7 separate regions of the Homo sapiens genome follow, and all the other regions are linked to region 4. Evidence: promoter capture Hi-C in 16 types of primary human blood cells and fetal thymus (Javierre and others, 2016). All regions are on one chromosome and are shown on one strand. The core of a region is centred on a gene start or on the middle of the fragment in contact, and the rest is flanking DNA. Distances in the headings are between cores, read along the strand shown. Region 1 overlaps MRPS31 (mitochondrial ribosomal protein S31). Region 2 has its middle 3.5 kb from the start of MIR320D1. Region 3 has its middle 91 kb from the start of ELF1. Region 4 holds the start of COG6 (component of oligomeric golgi complex 6). Region 5 has its middle 27 kb from the start of MIR320D1. Region 6 has its middle 7.4 kb from the start of MRPS31. Region 7 overlaps SLC25A15 (solute carrier family 25 member 15).

Region 1 (3,517 bases), core at 616-3,115, 1.1 Mb before region 4:
CACACACACACACACACACACACACACACAATGTCTATACTATGTCAGGTGGTGAAACATGAAGAAAAATAAGAGTGATGGAGTTGGGCCAGGCACAGCCTGTAATCCCAGCACTTTGGGAGGCTGAGGCAGGAGGATTGCTTGAGTCTAGGAGTTTAAGACCAGCCCTGCCAACATAGTGAGACCCAGTCTCTACAAAAAATGAAAAAAAAATAGCTGGGTGTGATGGCATGCACCTGTAGTCCCAGCTACTCAGGAAGCTGAGGCAGGAGGATTACTTGAGCTGAGGAGGTTGAGGCTGCAGTGAGCTGTGGTTGTGTCACTGTACTCCAGCCTGGGTGGGAAAAAAAAAAAAAAGAATGAGGGGGCTGGAGAGGTGCTATTTTTAAGAATAATTAGGGAAGAACTCTGATAAGGTAACATTTGAGCAAAGATTAGAATCAAATTAGGGATAAAGCCATGTAGATATCTGAAAGATGAATTCCTTTTCAGGCATAGAGGATAGAACTGCTTAGGCCTTGAGGTTGGAGTATGCAGTATCCTTCAAATTCCACAAATTTGTTTCTTTTCTTTCATTTTTTGATACAGAGTCTTGCTCTATTCCCCAGGCTTGAGTGCAGTGGCACAATCGCCTCTACCTCTGGGCTCAAGCAATCCTCCCACCGCAGCCTCCCGAGTAGCTAGGACTACAGACATGCACCATCACATCTGGCTAGTTTTTTTTTTTTCTTTTTGTAGAGACGATGTTTCACTATGTTGTCCAGGCTGGTCATGAACTCCTGGACTCAAGTAATCTGCCCACCTTGGCCTCCCAAAGTGCTGGGATAACAGGCGTGAGCCACCATGCCCAGCTGTTTATTTTTTCTTTCTTTCTTTCTTTTTTTTTTTTTTCTGTTTATTTTCTTTAAACACATATTCTTAGAAGTGGAATTGCTAGGTCAAGAGATGTGCATATATATATTTTTTGCCTTTGATATATGGCACCAAGTTGCCTGCCAAAAGCGGTGCCAATTTAAGTATCCACTCAGTTTCTTTCCCTCATCAGAATTCTTTTCTGAAATTGTATGTCATACAGTTTATTTTAAAGAAATTTAAAAAGTACAGAATGTTATGAAGGGGAAAAGTTTGTATTAATGAAATGGTTTTAATTACAGGATAGAATAGATTGTTAAAAGATACTTTAACAAGTTCTCCTTACATTGTTAAAATATATGAAGAAAGATCCCTGTATGTAAAAATTATTCAATGACAGAGGCTCCCCCACAATTTTTTATTAATTAGAACATTTCAAATTATAAAGCCAGAGAGTATAACTACATAGGAAACCATTGTTATGAAATGTATGATTCTAGAAAATGAATATTCATCTATGTTCTGTGTATACTTTGATCAAATATATTAAAATTTGAAAATGAAGTTCACAAGTAGTTTATGAAAGAAATACAATGACTTTGGAACAAGGTTAAAGCTTTATTCACAGATAAGTTTTAAAAGCACATTTTATTTTAACTTATATTTCTCTATTTTTCTTTTCTTTTTTTTTTTGGAGACAGACTCTCACTCTGTGCCTCAGGCTGTAGTGCAGTGGAAAAATCATGGCTCACTGCAGCCTCTACCTCCTGTGCTCAAGTGATCCTCCCACTCAGCCTCACCAGTAGCTGGGACTATAGGCACATGCCACCACACCTGGCTAATTTTTTTTTTTCTTTTCTTTTTTTCTCTATCCCAGGCTGGTCTCAAACTCCTGGGCTCAAGCGATCCTCCCGCCTCAGCCTCCCAAAGTGCTGGAATTATACAGGAATGAGCCACCGTGCCCGACCCCTTGTTTAATTCTTCTCTTTTTCTTCTATTCCTATCAGATTTTAGATCTTTCATAACTTAGTTAAGTCCTTAAAATCTTTCTCCAAGAACTTCAGGAATTTGGGAAGTTTAACTTTCGTATTAGGTAACGTATCATAATATAGAAAGCCAGGTATAGTAAAACATTAATTTGGATCCCACTCATTGAGATGTCAGTTCTCAGTGAGTTAAAAAATGTTGCAAATAGCCAAGCATGGTGGCAGTTGGCTATAGTCACAGCTACTCAGGAGGATGAAATGGGAGGATTGCTTGAACCCAGGACTTTGAAGCCAGACTTGACGACATATTGAGACCCCTGTCTCTTAAAAAAAAAAAAAAAAAGGAAAAAATGTTGTAAATAGTTTATTTTCTTTTTATAATAGAATGTTTTTCTATTAACTTGCTCTAATTTAGGAAGCTTTTAAAAGCTTTTTCTTATGAAAAATTTAAAACATATGCAAAGAACACAAAATGGTATAACGCCTTTCTACTGTTGCCCAGCTTCAACAGTGATCAACATTTTGCCATTCTTGTATGTCCTATGCCTTCACCCACTTTCCATCTCCTACTTGATGATGATTTATGGCTCTTTTTTTCAGGTAAAATTTACATGTATTAAAGTATACAAATCTTAGCTGTAGGATTTTGAGAAACAGGTAAGTCCCTGTGACCCACACACTTAGCAAAACACTACATTTTTCATTTTTACCTTCCCAGTCAGTAGCCATCAGTCCTGAGGCAATTGCTGTTTTGATTTTTTTTTCACCTCAGATTAGTGTTCCCTGTTCTGGAACTTGATATAAATGGAATCATACAGTTTTTTTTTTTTTTTTTTTTTTGACAGAGTCTAGTTCTGACACCCAGGCTGGAGTGCAGTGGCGCAATCCTGGCTCACTGCAACCTCCACCTCCCAGGTTCAAACGATTCTCATGTCTCAGCCTCCAGAGTAGCTAGGATTTTACAAGCATGTGCTGCCATGCCTGGCTAATTTTTATATTTTATATTCTTTGTGTCCAACTTCTTTCACTTGATCTAATGCCTGTGAAAGTCATTCATGTTGTCATGAGCTGAGTACTCTTCCATTGTATGGATATATCACAATTTGTTTTTCTGTTCTGATGATAGACTTTTAGGTTGGTTCCAGTAAAGTTTCTGCGAACTGGTTAACCTGCCTTTATATTTGCTTACAATATATATTGTTTCTGAAATACAATAACATCTAATTAAAAATTCCACTAATTTATAATTTTTGAGGCTGATCTGTCCCTCACCCCTCCACCTTAATATATTGTTCTGAGTTAGTGTTGTGCTTCAGCAAATATCCATTAATTTTAACATTTAACATTTCAAAGTTTATATAAAACCGGTACCTAATAGTTGAGAATTCTTGCCTTTGTCAGAAATTGAATTGAATACTTTTTTGAACACCAAAGTTTTCTCCAAAAATCATTTCACTTTTCACTAAACTAATGGTGTAATAAGCAATCTCTCTTTTTTGTTTTTTGTTTTTTTTGTTTGTTTTGGTTTGGTTTTTTTGAGACAGAGTCTCGCTCTGTCTCCCAGGCTAGAGTGCAGTGGCGTGATCTTGGTTCACTGCAGCCTCCACCTCCTGGCTTTAAGCAATTCTCTTGCCTCAGCCTCCCGAGTAGCCGGCACTTACAGGCGTGCGCCACCACGC
Region 2 (3,221 bases), core at 213-2,712, 1.1 Mb before region 4:
CCTCCCGAGTAGTTGGGATTACAGGCACACACCACCACGCCTGGCTAATTTTTTATTTTTATTAGAGAAGGGATTTCACCTTGTTGGCCAGGCTGGTCATGAACTCCTGACCTCCAGTAATCCACCTGCCTCGGCCTCCCAAAGTGCTGGAATTACAGGTGTGAGCCACTGCACCTGGCTGGGTTTTTTTAAATGTCAAGTGATAACACTATTTACTGGAGTTATATGTAAAGCAAGAATACAGAAAGGTTGAAAGTAAAAGGTAAGCTGGTATAGCTATATTAATATCAGGAAAAAAATAGTCTGAAAGACATTAGAAACTTAAAAAAATTCTGTTTATCAGAAAAATACAAAGTTGTACATACCTAATAACATGACTCAAAATATACAAGGCAAAAGCTGATAGAAATACAAATAAATATACCATTATGATAAAATATTTTAACGTAATAATTGATGAACTCAGCAGACAAACAGAAGCTTTGCTATACCTAATTATCTTGACCTAATGGAAATTTGTAGACCATTACACAGTGATCTAAATAGCTGCAAATACATTTATTTCAAGCACACATGTTGATAAATCAATCATAAACTTAGTCATAAAGCATATCTAGACACATTTCAATGGAATGTAGAACATGTTTTCCAATTACATTGCAAGTAAGTTAGAGACCAGTAACTGAACGCTAATCAGGAAAACTCCCTATGTTGAGAAATTTTAAAACCCTTTTAACTTATTCATAGGCCAGTGAAAAAAATATTCAGGCCAGGCGCGGTGGCTCACGCCTGTAATCCCAGCACTTTGGAAGGCCGAGGCAGGCAGATCACCTGAAATCAGGAGTTCAAGACCAGCCTGGCCAACATGGTGAAACTTTGTCCCTACTAAAAAATACAAAAATTACCCGGGTGTGGTGGCACATGCCTGTAGTCCCAGCTACTTGGGAGGCTGAGGCAGGACAATCGCTTGAACCTGGGAGGTGGAAGTTGCAGTGAGCCGAGATTGCGTCACTGCACTCCAGCCTGGGCGACAGAATGAGACTCCATCTCAAAAAGAAAAAAAGAATGAAAATCAATGAAGTAAGGTTATAATCTTAAGATATAAGAAAAGGAACAAGTGGTGTTTTTTTTTTTTTTTTTAAATCTGTTCTGTTGTTGTTGGTGGTGGTTTTTTTTTGAGACAGAGTCTTGCCCAGGCTGGAGTGCAGTGGCACATGGCTCACTGCCGCCTTGACCTGGGCTCAAGTGATCCTCCCACTGCAGCCTCCCATGTAGTTGGGACCACAGGCTCACACCACCATGCATAGCTAATAATGTTTTCGTTTGTAGTCTCACCATGTTGTCCAGGCTGGCCTTGAGCTCCTGGGCTCAAGCTATCCTCCTGCTCAGCCCCACAAAGTGTTGAGATTACAGGTGTGAGCCACCATGCCTGGCCTACATGAAATATATGCTTATTTGGTTTTGATTTTTACACTTTTATGATGTCAAGATGAACTCCCATTAACCCCCCAAAAAGGAACATCCTACTAGCTTCACATTACAAATGGAATATTAACACAATATAAACAGAAAACTGAGATGGGGTGATTAGGAGATCTAATAAGAGTAAATCTTAAAGGGAAATAGAATGAAATGTCTAAGGTAAAGGCAGAAGTTAATAGAAATAGTATAATAGGATCCATAAAGTCAAACACGGATTCATTTTTAAAAAAACAAATGCATTTCTGTCCAGATTTATTTTTTAAAAAAGCTGGGTACAGTTGCTCACATTGTAATCCTTGTGACTTGGGAGGGAAATGGAAGGATTGCCTAAGCCTAGGAGTTGGAGGCTGCAGTGAGCTATGATCGTGCCACTGTACCCCATCCTGAGTGACAGAGCAAGACCCCGTATCTGAGGAAATCATTTTTTAAAAAAAACTTTAAAATGTGAATAACTATTGATGTAAAAATTAAGATTTATTTTTCAAGAAGCTATTATGAACAATTTCGTGGCAATAAATTTCAAAATTTCATGGGCAAATTACTCAAAACTATGTTAGCAAAAATAATTTTAAAGGAAAAATGGAACAATCATTAAAGAAATTTGATGGATATTTTAAAATCTTCCCAGAAAACAAACACTAAACCCAGAGAAGTTTTCAGGAACGTTCTACTGAACATCCAGGAAAAAAATAATTCCAATTTTATATAAATTATTCCAAAACATAGAAAAAGAGGAAGCACTCTACAATTAATCATGAAGACAAATTTGAAAAATCCAAAGGAAGATAGTAAAGCAAATTCAGCAATGACTAGAAATCATTATCAAGCTGAGTTTGTTCCAGAATATCAGGGCAGTTTAACAATGGAGGAAAAAGATCATATCTCAAAAGATGCAGGAAAAAAGGTTTGGTAAACCTTGGCAGCCATTGATAATTTTTTTAAAATAAATTTTAGAAAGCTTGGAGTAGAGAACTTTTTTAACCTAATAAGTGGCATTTACAAAAAGCCTACAACAAATATCTTACTTTATGCTGAATTACGAAATGATTTCCTTTAAGATTATAAACAAGAACAGGATAATCACTATCATGATTTCAGCATTGTACTGGGGGCCTAGCCTATGCAGAATAGCAAGAAAAAAGGTGATTAGGATTGGAAATCCACCCTATAGTAACCCCAAGTAAATCACAACCTCTCTTTGAGTGTGGATGAGACCTGAGACTTGCTTTCAACGATAGAATATGGCTAAGGTGATGGGGTAGTCACTCCTTTGACTGGTTCATATTATATGGCAAAAGTAATGGAATAGTTACTCTTGTGATTATGTGATGTTACAGAAGACTCCTTGTTAGCGGACTAGAGTGCACTATCATGTTGTAAAAAGGCCTGTGAATGAGCCACCTGTCAAGAAACCTTGGGGACCACTAGGAGCTGATGGAAACCCCCAGCTGACAGCCAGAACAATGCAGGGACTCCATCCTACAGCCTCAGATAGCTGAATCCTGCCAACAACCACCTGAACTTAGAAGAGGACACTACATTTTAAAAAGGACCACAGTCTGGCTGTCACCTTGATTACAGCCTTGTGAGACCCTGAGCAGGAGACCAACAGAAACTGTGAGTTAATAAGTACATGTTTTAAGCCACTAAGTGTGAGGTAATTCATTATACACCAGTAGATAGCTAATAAAGGAAGAAAGAGACAAACCTAATTAGAGACTAGATTACATAGAAAACAA
Region 3 (3,182 bases), core at 499-2,998, 1.3 Mb before region 4:
TCTGACACCAACTGGGTGTCTTTGTCCTACAATTCAGTTCAATTCTGACCCTAACCACTTGGAGTTAGCACAGACCCCACAGGTTAAGGGGCTTAGTCTCTCAAAACTGCCCCTCCTTCAGATGCCCATTGCAAGTCCCAGGTTTCCACTTGTACTTCTGACCAGCTAGCTATAAATCAGGGGTTCCCATGACCCCCACCCACTTAGGTTGGATAATTTGCTAAAAGAGCACACAAAACTCAGGGAACCAATTTACTGGTTTACATTTATGTCAATTTATTATAAAGAATAGAGCTCATGAACAGCCAAATGAAAAATGCATAAAGCAATGAATGGGAGGAAGTGAACAGAGCTGCTCTGCCGTCTCACGATGTGCCACCCACCTAGCACCTCAAAGTGTTTACCAGCCTAGATGTTCTCCAGACACCATCATTTTACGAGTTTTTAAATGAAGCTTTTATTACATAGGCATGCCTGATTAAATCATTGGCCATTGGTGATTGAACTCAATCTCTACACCCTCTCCTCTCCTTGGGGATGGGACTGAAAGTTCCAATTCTAATTACATGGTTGGTTTCTCTGGAAATCATTTCCCATCCTGAAACTATCTGGGGACCCATGAAGTGTCCACCTTATTAGCATAAACTCAGGTATGGTTGAAAGGAGCTTGTTACGAATAACAAAAGATGCTCTTCCCTTCTAAATGCCAAAGGTTTCAGAAGCTAGGGTGTCAGGAACCTAGGGATAAAAGCCAAATAAAATGTTTTTATTGTATCACAATCATGCACCTATTTACAGAATAGTCTTTCTAAAATATCCCTTGGCAGTTTGGGCAACATAGTGAGACCCCATCTCCAGAAAAAGTAAAAATATCACAGTGCATGGTGGCAAGAGCCTGTAGTCCCAGCTATTCAGGAGGCTGAAGTGGGAGATCTGTTGAGCCTGGGAGGTTGAGGCTGCAGTGAGCTGTGATTACAGCACTGCACTCCAGCCTGGGTGACAGAATGAGACCCTGTCTCAAAAAAATCAAATAAAAATATCCCTTGGGAATACATAATGTTCATATATGGAAACCCTCAATACCTTTCTACTTGTAGGATAAAGTCCAAAATCCTTAGCTTACCATTCAAATTCCTCCATCAAACTGGGTTCCTAGGCCAACTATTTCAGTGTTATCCTTTTTTTTTTTTCTTTGAGACAGTTTCTCGCTCTGTTACTAAGTCTGGAGTGCAGTGGCACAATCTTGGCTTACTGCAACCACCGCCTCCTGGGGCTCAAGAGTTCCTCAGCCTCCTGAGTAGCTGGGACCACAGGTGTGTACTGTGCCTGGCTAATTTTTTTTTTTTGTATTTTTGTAGAAAGGGGTTTTTGCCATGTTGCCTAGGCTGGTCTCCAGCTCCTGGGCTCAAGAGATCCGCCCCCGCTTAGCCTCCCAAAGTGCTGAGATTACAGGAGTGAGCCCTTGTACCCTGCCGATGTTTTTCTTAAAATGCAAATTTTTTGGTTCCACCCCATACTTACTGAATTTGCATCTCATGGGAAAGCTGTACAATTTGCTTTTTTTTTTTTTTCCTCCCGAGACAGAGTCTCGTTCTGTCGCCCAGGCTGGAGTGTAGTGTCACGATCTCGGCTCACTGCAACCTCCGCCTCCCGGGTTCAAGCAATTTTCCTGTCTCAGCCTCCCAAGTAGCTGGGATTACAGGCGCCTGCCACCACGCCCGGCTAATTTTGGTATTTTTAGTAGAGACGGGGTTTTGCCATGTTGCCCAGGCTGGTCTCGAACTCCTGACCTCAGGTGATACGCCCACGTCGGCCTCTCAAAATGCTGAGATTACAGGCATGAGCCATCGTGCCCGGCCTCTACTTGAATTTTACAATCAGTTTGTCAACTTCTAAAAGGGAAAAGCCTCTGGGATTTTTAGTTTTATTTTATTTCAGAGATGGGGTCTTGTTATATTGCCTAGGCTGGTCTCGGACTCCTGGCCTCAAGCGAACTTCTGGCCTCCTGTCTCAGGCCCCAGTAGCTGAGATTACAGCCCCACTTGGGATTTTGATTGGGATCATGTTGAGTCTATAGGTCAGTCTCGGAAGATCTCAACAATATTGAGTCTTTGACTCATCAATTTGGAGGAGCTCTCCATTTTTCAGTCTTCTTTAATTTTTTTTTTTTTTTTTTGAAATGGAGTCTCGCTCTCTCGCCCAGGCTGGAGTGCAGTGGCGCAATCTCGGCTCACTGCAAGCTCCGCCTCCCGGGTTCACCCATTCTCCTCCCTCAGCCTCCCGAGTGGCTGGGACTACGGGCGCCCGCCACCACGCCCGGCTAGTTTTTTTGTATTTCTTTAGTAGAGACGGGGTTTCACCGTGTTAGCCAGGATGGTCTCCATATCCTGACCTCGTGATCCGCCCGCCTCGCCCTCCCAAAGTGCTGGGATTACAGGCGTGAGCCCCCGCGCCTGGCCAATTTCTTTTCTTTTCTTTTTTTCTTTTTCTTTTCTTTTCCTTTCTTTTCTTTTCTTTTTTTTTTTCTTTTTGAGACGGAGTTTCACTCTTGTTGCCCAGGCTGGAGTGCAGTGGCGCAATCTTGGTTCACCGCAACCTCCGCCTGCTGGGTTCAAGTGATTCTCCTGCCTCAGCCTCCCGCGGAGCTGGGATTACAGGCATGTGCCACCATGACCGACTAATTTTGTATTTTTAATAGAGGCGGGGTTTCTCCATGTTGTTCAGGCTGGTCTTGAGCTCCCGACCTCAGGCGATCCACCCATCTCGGCCTCCCGAGTCTTCTTTAATTTCTTTCAGCAATGTTTTATAGTTTCCAGTGCACATGTCTTGCATATCTCTTGTCAGATTTACTTTTTAGTATTTAATATTTTTTATGTTACTGTAAATGTCATGGCTTTTTACATTTTAAATTTTGATTATTAGTGATTTTGCTTTAAATCTTTTTTCTATTTTATTAAAGTATAACTTTGTAAAGTGCACAAATCCGTATATAAAACTTTGTAAAGTGCACAAATTCATAAACCTCTCTTTGGGAAAGCTTTATTGTGAAAAAGATACAAATAAGATAGTCTTGTTAGATTCAGTTCGAAAGGAAATTATCAAGTGTAACACGCTTACTTAAGGATGGCCTCGACATTAGATTGGGAAGATTTTCTCTTTCAAATGAATGAAAATGATCCCTT
Region 4 (3,254 bases), core at 591-3,090:
ATAGCCTTGAAATGTCCTAAGGTCTGGTTCAAAGAAGTAATCAGTAATGTTGAACGAATGAAATCACAGACTCAGATGCAAATTACAGTTCCACCAGTTACTAGTTATATGACAACCTAGCTGCACTCTCTCCATGCTTTATTTTCCTCATGGTAAAAAGAAGGTTATGTGGCCGGGCGCAGTGGTTCACGCCTTGTAATCCCAGCACTTTGGGAGGCTGAGGCGGGCAGATCACCTGAGGTCAGGAGTTCAAGACCAGCCTGACCAACATGGAGAAACCCCGTCTCTAATAAAAATACAAAATTAGCCAGGCGTGGTGGCACATGCCTGTAATCCCAGCTACTTGGGAGGCTGAGGCAGGAGAATCGCTTGAACCCGGGAGGCAGAGGTTGCAGTGAGCCGAGACTGCGCCCATTGCACTCCAGCTTGGGCAAAAAGAGCAAAACTCTGTCCAAAAAAGAAGGCCATGTTATCTATATCAGAGCAAGTAGCAGTCTTAAATGATATAATAAATATCAATATGAGACACATTAAACACTTCATAAATTTTATGATAAAATTAATATTTGTTAAGAAAGAGTAAGTGCCAGGCTCTTTGCAAAGGACTTTACCTGGAGTCTCTCACTGAGTCCTCAAATAACAACCATGAGAAACTTAACAGCAGGATTCCTAATTCCTAAACAGAAGCTGAGATTAGTGAAGGGACTTACTCAAATCATGATGCACACATTTAGTGGTTCTATCTAATAAGTGGTAGTCTCCAGAGCCCTAATTTCTTATTCATTACATTGCAATGTTATTTTTTTACATATCGGAATCAAATTGTTATCGACAGCTTATTTTCAGTTACCTACATATTCACCTATAAAACTCTCTAACTTTGACATATGTTCTTCTTTATGTTACACTGTCATGACCAATTTACCTAGCGACCCACAGAGACAGAAGAGATGGCTGGGTATGTGAGGAGCTGTAAAGTCCAACTTAAGTTTCAGGAGGTACTTGTGAGAGCATGCTGTCAGTTTATCTTCTAAAGAAATACAGCCTGAGCCCACAAATCATAGCGCTTGGCTCAACAAAAACTAGTAGATATGAGTTCATTTCAGCCACGGGCAAAGGTAGTTCTTTCGCGCTGCAAATTATTGCAATTGTTGTCACTTGTCCGTGGAAATGCACCCTTATCCCTACCACTGCTCTCTTGGTCTCCCGACCCCCATTTGCGCTACCTTATCTTGGAATCTGCTCTTTTGCATCTGTTTCATATCCAGTCTTGTGCTCTCCTCCACTCTCCCAGCTCACACAGCCAAACGCCTCCAGGGGTGTTTGGAGGACACTTCTCGAGGCACCACCGTTCACCAATCCCATCCAGAGAGCCTTGAAGGCACCTTTTCAGGTGGAGAGAACACCCAGGAAACCCCTTCGCTTTTCCGGAGGTTGCTGGGGCTCCCCCTTCTCACCGCCCCCGGCGCCCGCAGAGCAGCGGAGCCCGCAGGTCTGGGGTCACTCGCGGTCCCTCTGCTGCCGGGACGAGGGAGACCGCGGTGGGTCCCTGACAGACGCCGCCCCTGGCCCGGCTCAGCCCCGCAGGAACCTGTGACTCCGGCCCCGCCAGCCCCGGTTACCTTGTCGTTGTCCAGCCGCGTCTCCAGGATCTTATGCAGCTTGCGCGACAGCGGGTTGCAGGTCGTCGCCGAGGTCCCGCCTGCCCCATTGTTGAGGCCGTTGGCAGCCCCGGTCGCAGACACTGCGACCACTTCCCCGCTGCCCTCTGCCATAGCGCTGCGCGTCCCGCCCCCTGCTGCCACCTCAGCCAGGCAGGGACCACGGAGGCAGCGCGAGTATTGCGCATGTGCAAATCGGCCGCGCATGCGCATCGGCCCCGGAAGTCTTCGCCGGGTAACCCTGCTTGGGCTCTCAGAAGCGTGAGGGGCGGAGAAGATGTGGGGGGCGGGACAAGACCCTCAGGTAGAAGGAGAAAATTTATAGGATTAGAGAGGACTTTGGAATTATGGATCTGCGACCTTCAGAGCTAATTAGATGACAACCAAATGTAGTATGTAAAATACACCATGACTTGTGCCTGGCATATACATTCAATATAAGTTAACTGAAAGTTTAAATTACATTTGCCTTATCTGAATTCATTTTTTTGAAAATTATTTATTGAAGGCATAGTATGTGCCAGGTACTCTGGTAGGCATTGGAGAATCTACATTGTGTGTCTGAAACAGACAAAGCTGTTAATAGATGTTATTAGGTTGTGATGAGTGCTCAGGGGATGAAGTAGTACAGTGAAAGAAAATGGAGGGAAAGGCCCACTTCACTCAGGGAGGTTTGGAGAGGAGTTGACACTTAAACTGAGATTTGAAGGAGAATCAGAATGTGAGGAGAAATCATTCCCAGGCAGAAGAAAGTGTGTAAGTGTACAGGCCTCAAAACAAGATGAACTTGGCCCTGACACAAATGGACCAGAGCCCATGTAGCTGTAAAGTAATGGATAAAAATGTAACAAGTTGAAAAAACTTCCCGGGAAACTCTGGAAAACAAACATCATTGCTTTTTTTCTTTCTTTTCTCAGTTTTTAAAATTTGGATCAAAATAAAATCGCTGGGCTTCTGTGAATTATTTGTCAGAAACACTATTTGGCTCTTGTCATAAATTTTCCTTGTTTCATATATGTCTATGTACATAGTTATATTGTATATCAGACTTAAGGGAAAATTACCTATTACAGAGGTCACATAAAGAAAGCACTGACAAAACCACTCATCTCTACTCTAATGAAGAAGAGAAGGCCCAACTATCCAAAAGAAAAAAATATACAAAAAGCAGCAATATCTAGGTATGAATTCAACAAAAAATACAGAGAACCTAGATGAAGAAAACTTTAAAATGCTACTGGGAGAACATAAAACTTAAATCAATGAAAAAATATATTGTTCTCTTCAACAGGAAGACTCAATATTGTAAGATGTCTTTTCTCTTTCACAGATAAATTTAAGTTCAGTGTAACCAAAATTAAAATATCAAAGGTTTACCTAAGGTGTATATATCCAAATGAATTTGCATATATACAAAGCAATAATATAATGTAGAGCTTGCAAATATGTACAATTAAAAGGAATGACGATGATAACATGCCAAGTCAGGAGCGGTCATGAAATACCACATATTGTATGACCTCTTTATGTGAAATCTCCCAAATAGGTAAATCAATAGAGATAGAAAGTAGATGAGTGGTTCTGGGAAGAGGA
Region 5 (3,561 bases), core at 915-3,414, 1.0 Mb before region 4:
GTATTTTTAGTAGAGATGAGGTTTGACTATATCAGTCAGGCTGGTCTCGAACTCCTGACCTCAAGTGATCCCCCTACCTCAGCCTCCCAAAGTGCCGGGATTACAGGTGTGAGCCACTGCACCTGGCCCCTTAGTTTTGTTTTTTGTTTTTTGTTTTTTTGTTTTTGAGATAGAGTCTCGCTCTGTCACCCAGCTGGAGTGCAGTGGTGCAATCTCGGCTCACTGCAACCTCCACCTCCCAGGTTCAAGCAATTCTCCTGTCTCAGCATCCTAGGTAGCTGGGACTGCAGGCACCCACCACCACACCTGGCTAATTTTTATATTTTTAGTAGGAGTGGGGTTTTGCCATATTGGCCAGGCTGGTCTCAAACTCCTGACCCCAGGTGATCCACCCACGTTGGCCTCCTAAAGTGCTGGGATTACAGGCATGAGCCACCGCGTCCAGCCTAGATTTTTTTGTTGTTGCTGGAGAATAACATTTAGAAACCAAGATATGGGTACTGGGTGAAAGCTTATTCTTTGATGATTATAAAGCTTATATATCAGAAGATTTACCAATATAGGATGATGCAGCATCTTCAGTAATAATCTGAAGCAAAACAGCCAATATATATGGTTAGCTTTAAGCATGGTTTAAAATGTTTTGTTTACTCCAAAAAATGCTTTAGGTACAAATGCCATTTATATCAAAGTGCTTTCCTTCCTAAAATGCTCCTTTATTTTTAAGCAGGAATATTAATTTTGTTTTATTTTCCATCTCACATTCTTCTATCCATAATGTCAAAATAATTACGTCTTATATTTTAAATAATAGAATTACAAAATGTTCAATCTCATTGATAATCAAAAATCTTGGCCGGGCACAGTGGTTCATGCCTATAATCCCAGCATTTTGGGAGGCCAAGGCCGGTGGACCACGAGGTCAGGAGATCGAGACCATCCTGGCTAACACGGTGAAACCCTGTCTCTACTAAAAATACAAAAAATTAGCTGGGCTTGGTGGCATGTACCTGTAGTCCCAGCTACTCAGGAAGCTGAGGCAGGAGAATCGCTTGAACCCAGGAGGCGGAGGTTGCAGTGAGCCAAGATCGCACCACTGCACTCCAGCCTGAGTGACAGAGTGAGACTCTGTCTCAAAACAAACAAACAAACAAACAAAAAACAAAAAAGAGAAAAAAGTAAACTTAACAATGAGATTGTTGCCATCTTATGAAAATATTAACAAATGTTTAAAAGATTGATAATATTGTTAAGAGTAAGCTGGGCACAGTGGCTCAAACCTATAATCCCAGAACTTTGGAAGGCCAAGGTGGGTGGATCATTTGAGACCAGGAGTTCGAAACCAGCCTGGCCAACATGGTGAAATCTTGTCTCTACTAAAAATATGAAAATTAGCTGGGAGTGGTGGTGAACGCCTATAATCCCAGCTACTTGGGAGGCTGAGGCAGGAGAATCACTTGAACCCAGGAGGCAGAGATTACAGTGAGCCAAGATCACAGCCACTGCACTGCAGCCTGGGTGACACAGCGAGACTCTGTCTCACAAAAAAAAAAAAAAAAAAATTAAGAGTGTGAGAAAGCAGATCCTCTATAGCACCTATTTGAGAGCAATTGGTAGTATTGATGGACATGCAAAATGTGCATTTATTTTGTCTTAACAATTCCACTTCTAAAAAGTTTCCATCAGAAATAGAAGTACAAGTATACAATGGTGTGGGTGTGTGTGTGTGTGTGTGTGTCTATGTGTGACTGCATTGCTGGTAATGATTAAAAACTGGAGATAATTGAAGTGTCCATCAAGAAGGACTAGTTAAGTGCTTTGAACCACTGTATCACGCAGTTGGGGGAGAGTTGTGGAAGTCTTCCTAGAAGAAGTGATGTTTAAGTTGTGAACTAACTAAAAGATGAGTAGGAACAAGCTCTGTGAATTGTGTATGTGTGTTGGGGTGAGGAGAGGACATCCAAGGCAAGCTATGGCACATAGGATGGCCCTGAGGCAAGAAGATGGTGTGTTCAAGACTTGGATATTAGGAAAGAGGGAGAGGAAGAGGAGCTTAAGAAGGAAGAGGAGCTTAAGATGCTCCTTAAGAAGGAGCATCTATTTATGTGCTGGTCTCCCTAACTTCACCATGAGCTCCTTGCAGCTTATTTATTCTCGTTTCTCCATGTCTAGCCCAGGTTGACATTCAAAACATAGTTGTTAAATGAATGAAGTAATTTGACCGACTAACCCTGGAACAGAAATCTTAACCTGGGGTTGAAGGTCCCATGATGTTTGGGGGGTTGGGAGGTGGTTGGTGAACTTGAATAGGAAAAAAAAATGCTTTCTTATTTCCATTCACCTCTAACTGAAAATTAGCACTTCCTTCCATTATGAAGTCACACAACAAAACACAGTAGTATTAGCAGTACCTATGACTTTGTCACCCATAGAAGTCACAGTTATTTTCATCTCACATTAGAGTTGTTGCACGTATCTCAAAATATAATTTATGCTCATTACTACTTCAAAATTATAGTAATTATTACACCTGCCACTAGATCTTGTTATTTAATGTGTCAATCAAAGAATAATATTTATTATTGTATCACATGTTAAACTATTTTGATAACTGTATTTCAACATAATTGGCATCCTTTGTAATCCTATGTATTTTATTTTATGCATTTAAGAACACTGTTCTGAGAGGGAGTCCACAGGTTTCTCCCAACTACCGAGGGAGTCCATGTGCAAGGGGCTAAGAACCCTGCCCAAGAGTGTAACATACAACCCTTTCTACCACACTCTCTGTGATGAAGGAGGTAATGTTTTTGTTGTGTTGTTGTTTTTGAGGCGGAGTTTTGCTCTTGTTGCCCAGGCTTGAGTGCAGTGGGGCGATCTCGGTTCACTGCAACCTCAGCCTCCTGGGTTCAAGTGATTCTCCTGCCTCAGCCTCCAGAGTAGCTGGGATTAGAGGCTTGCGCCACCATGCCCGGCTAATTTCGTATTTTTAGTAGAGATGGGGTTTCTCCATGTTGATCAGGCTGGTCTCGAACTCCCGACCTCAGGTGATCCACCCACCTCGGCCTCCCAAAGTGCTGGGATTACAGGCATGAGCCACGGTGCCCGGCCTGATATAGGAGGTAATGTAAATTGTAGGTGTCATGGCCCAACTCCCCCCTTTTTTTTTTTTTTTTTTTGAGACGGAGTCTCGCTCTGTCGCCCAGGCTGGAGTGCAGTGGCGCGATCTCGGCTCACTGCAAGCTCCGCCTCCCGGGTTCACGCCATTCTCCTGCCTCAGCCTCCCTAGTAGCTGGGACTACAGGCGCCCGCCACCGCGCCCAGCTAATTCTTTTTGTATTTTTAGTAGAGACCGGGTTTCACCGTGGTCTCGATCTCCTGACCTCGTGATCCGCCCGCCTCGGCCTCCCAAAGTGCTGGGATTACAGGCGTGAGCCACCGCGCCCGGCCCCAACTCCCTTTCTGTCAGATAAACGGCACCTTTTCCTCTCCCCAACGTAAATAAACTCTGGTTATTCTGTTCTTTTCCCACTCTCAGTTGGAGAAACCACTTCTGCTCCT
Region 6 (3,515 bases), core at 289-2,788, 1.1 Mb before region 4:
GTGTACATATCTGCAATGTACTATTTTATAATTACATTAATAATGGTTCCCCCAGTAAAAATAATCTGAATTTAGACCCTTTGTATCTAAATATTTATATGGCACCCATCACTAGATACTTAGCTGTTTATAAACATTTTTAAAGTGCTTTCATTAAATTAATTATTCTGGTCAAACGTAGGCAGATACAACCATTGAAAGGACACACAAATAAAGGCCCAGCACAGTTGAGACACCACCTTAGGACTTAGCATGAAGGCTCTGGGTCAGACACCTGAAGGGAAAATCCTAGCCTCTCTGCTTCCAGCTGGATGAGTCAGAAAAGTCTCTTGGGGTGGGAATAAGAGGAAAGATCAGGTTCTGCCAGGTGACGCTCTAAGTACTCCCTGCTCCATGCCGCTGCTTCTCAGCTTCATGTGATTGCACCTTTGAGGACTTCCATGGGCCACATTCTAACCTTCTTATTTTATTTTATTAATTAATTTATTTCTAGAGACAAGGTCTCGCTCTCTTGCCCAGGCTGGAGTGCAGTGGCTTGATCATAGCTCACTGCAGCCTCGAGCTCTCAGGTTCAAATGATCCTCCTGCCTCAGCCTCCTAAGTAGCTGAAACTATAGGCATGTGCCACCACACCTGGCCAATTTTTAAATTATTTTGTTGGTGTGTTTGTTTGTAGAGAAGGGGGGGGGGTCCTCATTTTGTTGACCAGGCCGGTCTCGAACTCCTGGCCTCAAATGATCCTCCCATCTCAGCCTCCCAAAGTGCTGAGATTACAGGTATGAGCCACTGTGCCCAGCCCTAACCCTCTTATTTACAATAGTATTCTTTTCGTCACTGTGCCTAAAGTTGTAAAACATGGCCAACTCCCAAATGCACCATCATTCAAAGTATTTTGCCAACCTCTCTGTTCCAATTAAGCACTGGAAATTTGGAGATGAAAAGCCACACCTCATTCCATTCACTAAGAATCACAGAGCCAGGCACAAGGAGCTGGGAGCAGCAGTGCATGGGCACCCAGAGCACCAGGAAAGGGTCTGGAGGGGGCAAGAGCTGAGCCTTGAAGCAGGAGGAGGAGTTAGGCAGGGCAGAAGGAGGGAACACACCATAAGATTGCAAGGAGGTGGGGAAGCCATGACCATGTCCCGTGTCCGGGAGCTACAGGGGCTCTGGTCAGGGTAGGAGGAGAAGTAACAGGAAGGAGACTAGCAAAGGAGGTGGGGCTGATCTCGTGGGGTCTCACAGGCCCTGCTAAGAGAGTGTAGAGTTTCTTTAGAAGATGGTAGAGGGAGCTGCTGAGTGATGCAGACATCATGATGTGAACGTGGCTGTGTGGTGGAGGTTGACAGCATGGACTCTGGGTCGACTGACCAGTCCCCAAAAGCTGGCTCTCCCACCTGATGACTTTGCGATGGTAAGAAGCTCCTGTAAGCCTCAAATTTCTCATCTTAAAAAGAGAAGAATGGGCCGGATGCAATGGCTCACACCTGTAATCCCAGCACTTTGGGAGGCTGAGGCAGGTGGATCTCTTGAGGTCAGGAGTACGAGACCAGCCTGGCCAATATGGTGAAACCCCCGTCTCTACTAAAAATACAAAAAAAAATTAGCCGGGTGTGGTGGCGCACACCTATAGTACCAGCTACTCTGGAGGCTGAGGCAGAAGAATCGCTTGAACCCAGGAGGTCGAGGTTGCAGTGAGCCGAGATTGTGCCACTGCCCTCCAACCTGGGCAAAAGAGTCAGACTCCGTCTTAAAAAAAAAAAAAAAAAAAAGGGAGAATGGTGTTACTTGCCTCAGAAAAATTTGTGAAGATGAGACAATACATATAAAGCACTTATAGCCTCTAGTACTTAGTAAGTGGTCAACAAATGCTAACTATTGTTGTTACTGATCATTTGAATAATAATGATGTATATAATTTGCCTCATTTTTTATAGTTGTGATAATGGAATGAATTAACTTTGTCACGGCAAAAGAAGTTTAAAATGTTAGTTGTGTATCCTGATAGAAAATATAAACTTAAAAATCAATTTTTTTTAGAGATGGGAGTCTTGCTATGTTGCTCAGGCTGGTGTTGAACTCCTGGCATCAAGGTATCCTCTTGCTACAGCCATTGTGCCTGGCTAATATAAACATTTGTTTATTCATTCCACAAATATTGATTGACCATGAAGGATGTACCAGTCACAGTTCTAGGCTCTTGGGATAAAGTAGTGAACAAGGCTGACAGAGGTCCCTGCTCTCCCAGAGCTTACATTCTAGCCGGGAGGCTGATGATGAAAAAGGAAACCATGTAATTCACAAGGCCTGTAAATTCCACTAGGATAGAGAACGTGTTGTATTTGTACCTTGATCTATCTCAACTGCATAAGACAGGGCATATGATCAGGCACTCAAGGAATGTGTTGAATGAATGGAAGATTATTTCAGATAGTGCTGCATGCAGGAAGACAAGGAAACAGCATGACATGACAGAGTGGGAAGGTTGGCTTGGCTAGATGTGGTGCACTCCTGAGAAAGCCCTGCTGAGCTAAAGTGGATGATGTGAAGGAACCAATCGTGGGACAGTCTTTAGAATGGCTATTCCAGGCCAAAGAAGATTCCGTGCCTAAGCTGAAGGCCCGGAGGCAGGGCTGTGCTAGACCTGCACAAAGAAAGATGGAAAGGAATGAATGGACCCCACAGCACAGGGACCAATCATTTGTGGGTGTTTGGCAGACCTGTCTTTTATCTAATAGGAGACTGTTTTTGCCTCCAGAGGGCACTTGAACATAACAAATACATCTAAGGGCCAGCTTGGGTTAGCCCTTAGAGAAGCAGTTTCCCGAAGGCATAACTTGAGAGGGCCAGGAATGCAAAAAGAAAATAATCTCAGACGAAGCCTTTGCTTATTGAAATTTGCAAGCACCTCTTTTAAAAATTAAATTTTCTTGAGATAGTTAGTACAATAAGCTAGCAATGTGGGTTTTCGTACATTAGTGTTAGTTGAATAATATAGCCCTCCCCCTGGTGGACAGATGACAGAGAAGTTTGGCAGGTAGGAGAGGGGACGAAAGGCTAATATAGAGAGGTCTTGGCAAGGGTGTCAGGCCTGGGTGAGACCCAAAGCAAGGAGGCTCTGAGAAGCTAAAAGGCAACATAGAGACAGGCCAAGGGACAGGAGAGAATGAGTACAAGAAGTCAAGAGGATGGGCGGGGGGAACCAGAGTACTTTGATGTACTTTAGAAATTGACCTGAGGACAGTTCTGCCTGGTCATATCTCTGTCATCTCCAAAAATTATGTGCTAAGCACAGTTTCAGCATAGTTCTATGTCATATGCTGTGCCATACACATTAGTGTGACATGATCCTGGTCTTCCATGCACTTAAAATCCAAAGCAACTTTAAACATGAATATACTAAGAATGAGTCATCTTACGTAGAGGGGAAAGACAAGTATCTAGACAATCTAATTTGAAGGGCACGCAACCACTTCCTCTTCCGTCCCATCTCCCGTAAGTTCTGCTGCTGCGGGCCT
Region 7 (3,130 bases), core at 371-2,870, 1.1 Mb before region 4:
GGCTGCTTACTGTTTCCCTGTCTTCTCTCCCCATTTTGTCCTTTGCTAAGGAAACTGAACTGAATTCCAGGTCTTCTCTAATAGAGTGTCTCTCCTTCAACAGGGAACAAAACTACAGTTGCCTGTAGTTTTTGCTTCTGTTCAGTCTCCATCATGGCATGCCATACTCTCCTGGTTTGTGCCCTGCTTGTTTCTTTACTGCCTTCCTGCCTGCCCTTTCTGTGCTGGAGGCTCATCCCATTCATGCTCAGCCCTCCTCGCTGTCTACACTGTCTTCTTGGGCAATCGTATCTAGTCCCAAGCCTTTTTAAAAAACAAGCTCTACCCATCATGGTGGAATTCCTGTCTATAAAAGGGCACACCTTCAGACCTCCAGGCACCTCCAGAGAACAGTGCTGTGCACAAGAAACCGAATTCAGTTGTGTGGGACCTGCAGCTGCAATCAGGTTTCAAACTCCTACTGAAATAACTAAGACTGCCCTTTGCAATCTTGAAGCTTATATAATAATTTTAAGTGGTATAAAATAAATCAACATTCAAAGCAGGGATAGCTAAACATCCCAGTGGTTTCCAAATTCTGTTTAGTCTCTATATAATAAATACCCAAGGCAAGACCAACAAAGAGGCAAAGTCTGATGTTTTGGGAAGATTTGGACAGAGAAAGGTGGGTTCCCTTGCATCTTCGCAGACATTTCCGACCCTTCCTAAAACTCCTCAAGTTCATCTGGCTCAGACAACCTCTTCCAATACTCTGCTTTTTGCTAATGAAAGAAAAGCTAAATCTTGGATCATAAGCAGCATCTACAGTTTCAGTGCAGCATGTCTGCTGACGAGAGGTAGCACTGCCAGCTGCATCTGAACAGCATTCTCCTGGAGAAAACTGAAACAGAAGGGCGGTTCATTCTCAGTGGTGGATGATGAGCAGGTCTCCTCTGTGGTGTGCATATGTGGTTTCTAAGTTTTATATGATGACAATGTATAACTTCATAAATAAAAGGAAAGCAGTTATTTTTAAAAAAGGAAATGTTCTTCCACATAAGGCACCAGTAAAATTGTGACCATACAACAGTAGATTTTTTTTAATTTTTATTTTTTTGTAGAGATGAGGATCTTGCTGTGTTGCCCAGGCTGGTTTTGAACTCTCAGCCTCAAGCCATTTTCCTGCCTTTGCCTCCCAAAGTGCTGGGATTACAGGCATGAGCCACCATGTCTTGCCAGTTTTGTGGGGTTTTTTTAAACAAATAAAAAAAGTGTGTGTCCTTGACTCACCTCAGCTTTGCCTGCTTGTCCAATCCAGCCACTTTCCGCACCACCTGCTGGCAGAAGCCGTAGCACATGAAGAGGACTGAGTTCTCAGCGATGTTGGCGATTAGTGCTGGACTGGTACCCTTGTAGAAGCCACGGAAGCCCACCTGGGAGTAAGTCTTCAGGCAGCAGTCGGTGAGGCCCCGGTACAGGTCAGGGAACGTCTGCATCTTCACTTTCATTGTGTCAAAGGGCTGCCCGGTCAGTACACATGCTGTACCTCCTGCAATCAGGACAGATGACTGCTCTAGTACGAGGCTACAGTTCCATTATCCATGGAAGGAAGGCACAGGCAGCCTACCCCAGAACTTACCCCTGCTTCGGTTCATTTCAACCTCTTTTCCTCCAAAACCTTCCAGCCATGTCCAGTAAACAATTTAGAGCAGGTCCTTGATGTGCCTGGCATCTAAGTCCCACCCTGAAGGAGCTCATGCCAGGCAGGGGAGAGAGACAGACATGTGTTCAACAGCGGCAAACAGTGCAGTGAATATGTAGGAGCCTGGGCAATAGGGTCAGAGGGACTATGGCTTTGCTGTGAGATCCTGGACAAGCCATGTAACTTCTGAGCCTCAGCTCCTCATCCATGCCACCTCACAGGGTTAGCGTGAGGATTAAATAAAAATGGAGGAGACAGGCTTGGCACAGCACCGGCTACGTAATCAGTAAACAGCAGCTACTGTGTGCACAAGAAACGGAAACCACAGAAAGGGAGGGGAGACCTGGGAAGACTTCATCGCTCACTTTGCCTAATGCCCAGTGGGACTGATCAGACCCGGCACCACGGAAAGGAAACAAGGAGTCTGGCTAATTAATCCCCAAAGAGCTAAATATTTCATTCTATAGAAAAACCTCTTTAATTTGAGCTCTACCGATTAATAACGTGTATGTAAATAGAGAATGAACTGAAATTTATTTATGCTTAAATCCTTTATTTATATACTTCTATAAGATTAAATACAGCAGAGTCTACATTGCACAAAATAATTTTTTTTTTTTTTTTGAGATGGTGTCTTGCTCTGTCACCCAGGCTGGAGTGCAGTGGTGCAATCTCAGCTCACTGCAAACTCCACCTCCCAGGTTCAAGGAATTCCTGTGCCTCAGCTTCCCAAGTAGCTGGGATTACAGGCACCCACCACCACGCCTGGCTAATTTTTGTACTTTTCATAGAGATGGGGTTTCACCATGTTGGCCAGGGTGGTCTCTAACTCCTGGCCTCAAATGATCCTCCTGCCTTGGCCTCCCAAAATGCTGGGAGGCATAAGCCACCATGCCCAGCCACGTGAAATCATTTTAGTAAAAATTCTAAACAGAAGAGAAGAATGAACTGTAACCACCCTACAACATCCCCACACCCTGTAGTAGGGTTGGCGTCGTGGGAACTGCCAGTGGTTAGTGTTTACCGTCTCCTTCTGGACCTGAGAGGAGCTCTTAAAGCTTCATCAAAATGCAAAAGAAGGCTTACAGAAAATATTTAAGAAATGCAACTTCCTGAATTTGATGTTATACACAGTTATTCCATCTAAACTCTGGAAAGTGGAGTTGGGGGAAGGGACATTAAGAATAATTCTCAATTATTTATTGGCAAATAAGCCAACAATTCCAGAGTCTGAAAACTGCTTGATCTCTTTTTTAAGCAACAAGCAATATGATCTCTGTGAGCCCATCATTACTGTTCATTTCTTACAGGAGAGGAATGACACACTTCCGCCTTTAATTGCCAAATTATCCCCAATTCTGAATTAGTGGAATATAATTTAATATGATTTTATTATGATTAATCCTGAGTCATTCTCTCCCAGGTAATGCTGGGCTAGGATAAAAAGAA

The links. The method cuts DNA at HindIII sites, captures the fragments that hold promoters and counts their contacts. A CHiCAGO score of 5 or more calls a contact.
Region 1: a contact is called between a fragment that was not itself captured here and the fragment with the promoter of COG6 in region 4, in 13 of 17 cell types (total B cells, naive B cells, naive CD8 T cells and 10 more). The highest score is 12.5, in total B cells.
Region 2: a fragment that was not itself captured here is called in contact with the fragment with the promoter of COG6 in region 4 in 2 of 17 cell types (non-activated CD4 T cells and activated CD4 T cells); the score reaches 7.1 in non-activated CD4 T cells.
Region 3: a fragment that was not itself captured here is called in contact with the fragment with the promoter of COG6 in region 4 in 1 of 17 cell types (non-activated CD4 T cells); the score reaches 9.0 in non-activated CD4 T cells.
Region 5: a fragment that was not itself captured here is called in contact with the fragment with the promoter of COG6 in region 4 in 5 of 17 cell types (naive CD8 T cells, total CD4 T cells, naive CD4 T cells and 2 more); the score reaches 7.5 in naive CD8 T cells.
Region 6: a contact is called between a fragment that was not itself captured here and the fragment with the promoter of COG6 in region 4, in 6 of 17 cell types (naive B cells, total B cells, naive CD8 T cells and 3 more). The highest score is 11.2, in naive B cells.
Region 7: a contact is called between a fragment that was not itself captured here and the fragment with the promoter of COG6 in region 4, in 1 of 17 cell types (activated CD4 T cells). The highest score is 6.5, in activated CD4 T cells.

Annotation. Positions count from the first base shown.
Region 1 is chr13:40,759,296-40,762,812 of GRCh38, reverse strand. The region is part of intron 2 of MRPS31 (mitochondrial ribosomal protein S31); the gene reads left to right. Among named protein-coding and RNA genes, the nearest start is that of MRPS31, 10 kb to the left of the region's middle. The HindIII fragment of the contact is 789 bases long and covers 1,471-2,259 here.
Region 2 is chr13:40,722,764-40,725,984 of GRCh38, reverse strand. No RefSeq gene overlaps it. Among named protein-coding and RNA genes, the nearest start is that of MIR320D1, 3.5 kb to the left of the region's middle. The HindIII fragment of the contact is 1,960 bases long and covers 483-2,442 here.
Region 3 is chr13:40,926,383-40,929,564 of GRCh38, reverse strand. No RefSeq gene overlaps it. Among named protein-coding and RNA genes, the nearest start is that of ELF1, 91 kb to the left of the region's middle. RefSeq lists an enhancer at 1,388-1,507. The HindIII fragment of the contact is 2,583 bases long and covers 457-3,039 here.
Region 4 is chr13:39,654,248-39,657,501 of GRCh38, reverse strand. COG6 (component of oligomeric golgi complex 6) reads right to left here and starts at 1,840. Exons shown (of 19, transcript NM_020751.3): 1 at 1,623-1,840. The coding sequence starts at 1,775. RefSeq lists a silencer at 1,527-1,576. The HindIII fragment of the contact is 8,496 bases long and covers 1-3,254 here.
Region 5 is chr13:40,698,848-40,702,408 of GRCh38, reverse strand. No RefSeq gene overlaps it. Among named protein-coding and RNA genes, the nearest start is that of MIR320D1, 27 kb to the left of the region's middle. The HindIII fragment of the contact is 3,255 bases long and covers 537-3,561 here.
Region 6 is chr13:40,776,874-40,780,388 of GRCh38, reverse strand. No RefSeq gene overlaps it. Among named protein-coding and RNA genes, the nearest start is that of MRPS31, 7.4 kb to the right of the region's middle. RefSeq lists an enhancer at 3,093-3,142. The HindIII fragment of the contact is 7,552 bases long and covers 1-3,515 here.
Region 7 is chr13:40,797,455-40,800,584 of GRCh38, reverse strand. SLC25A15 (solute carrier family 25 member 15) reads right to left here. Exons shown (of 7, transcript NM_014252.4): 3 at 1,270-1,528. It also overlaps the pseudogene TPTE2P5. Among named protein-coding and RNA genes, the nearest start is that of SLC25A15, 9.4 kb to the right of the region's middle. The HindIII fragment of the contact is 2,243 bases long and covers 499-2,741 here.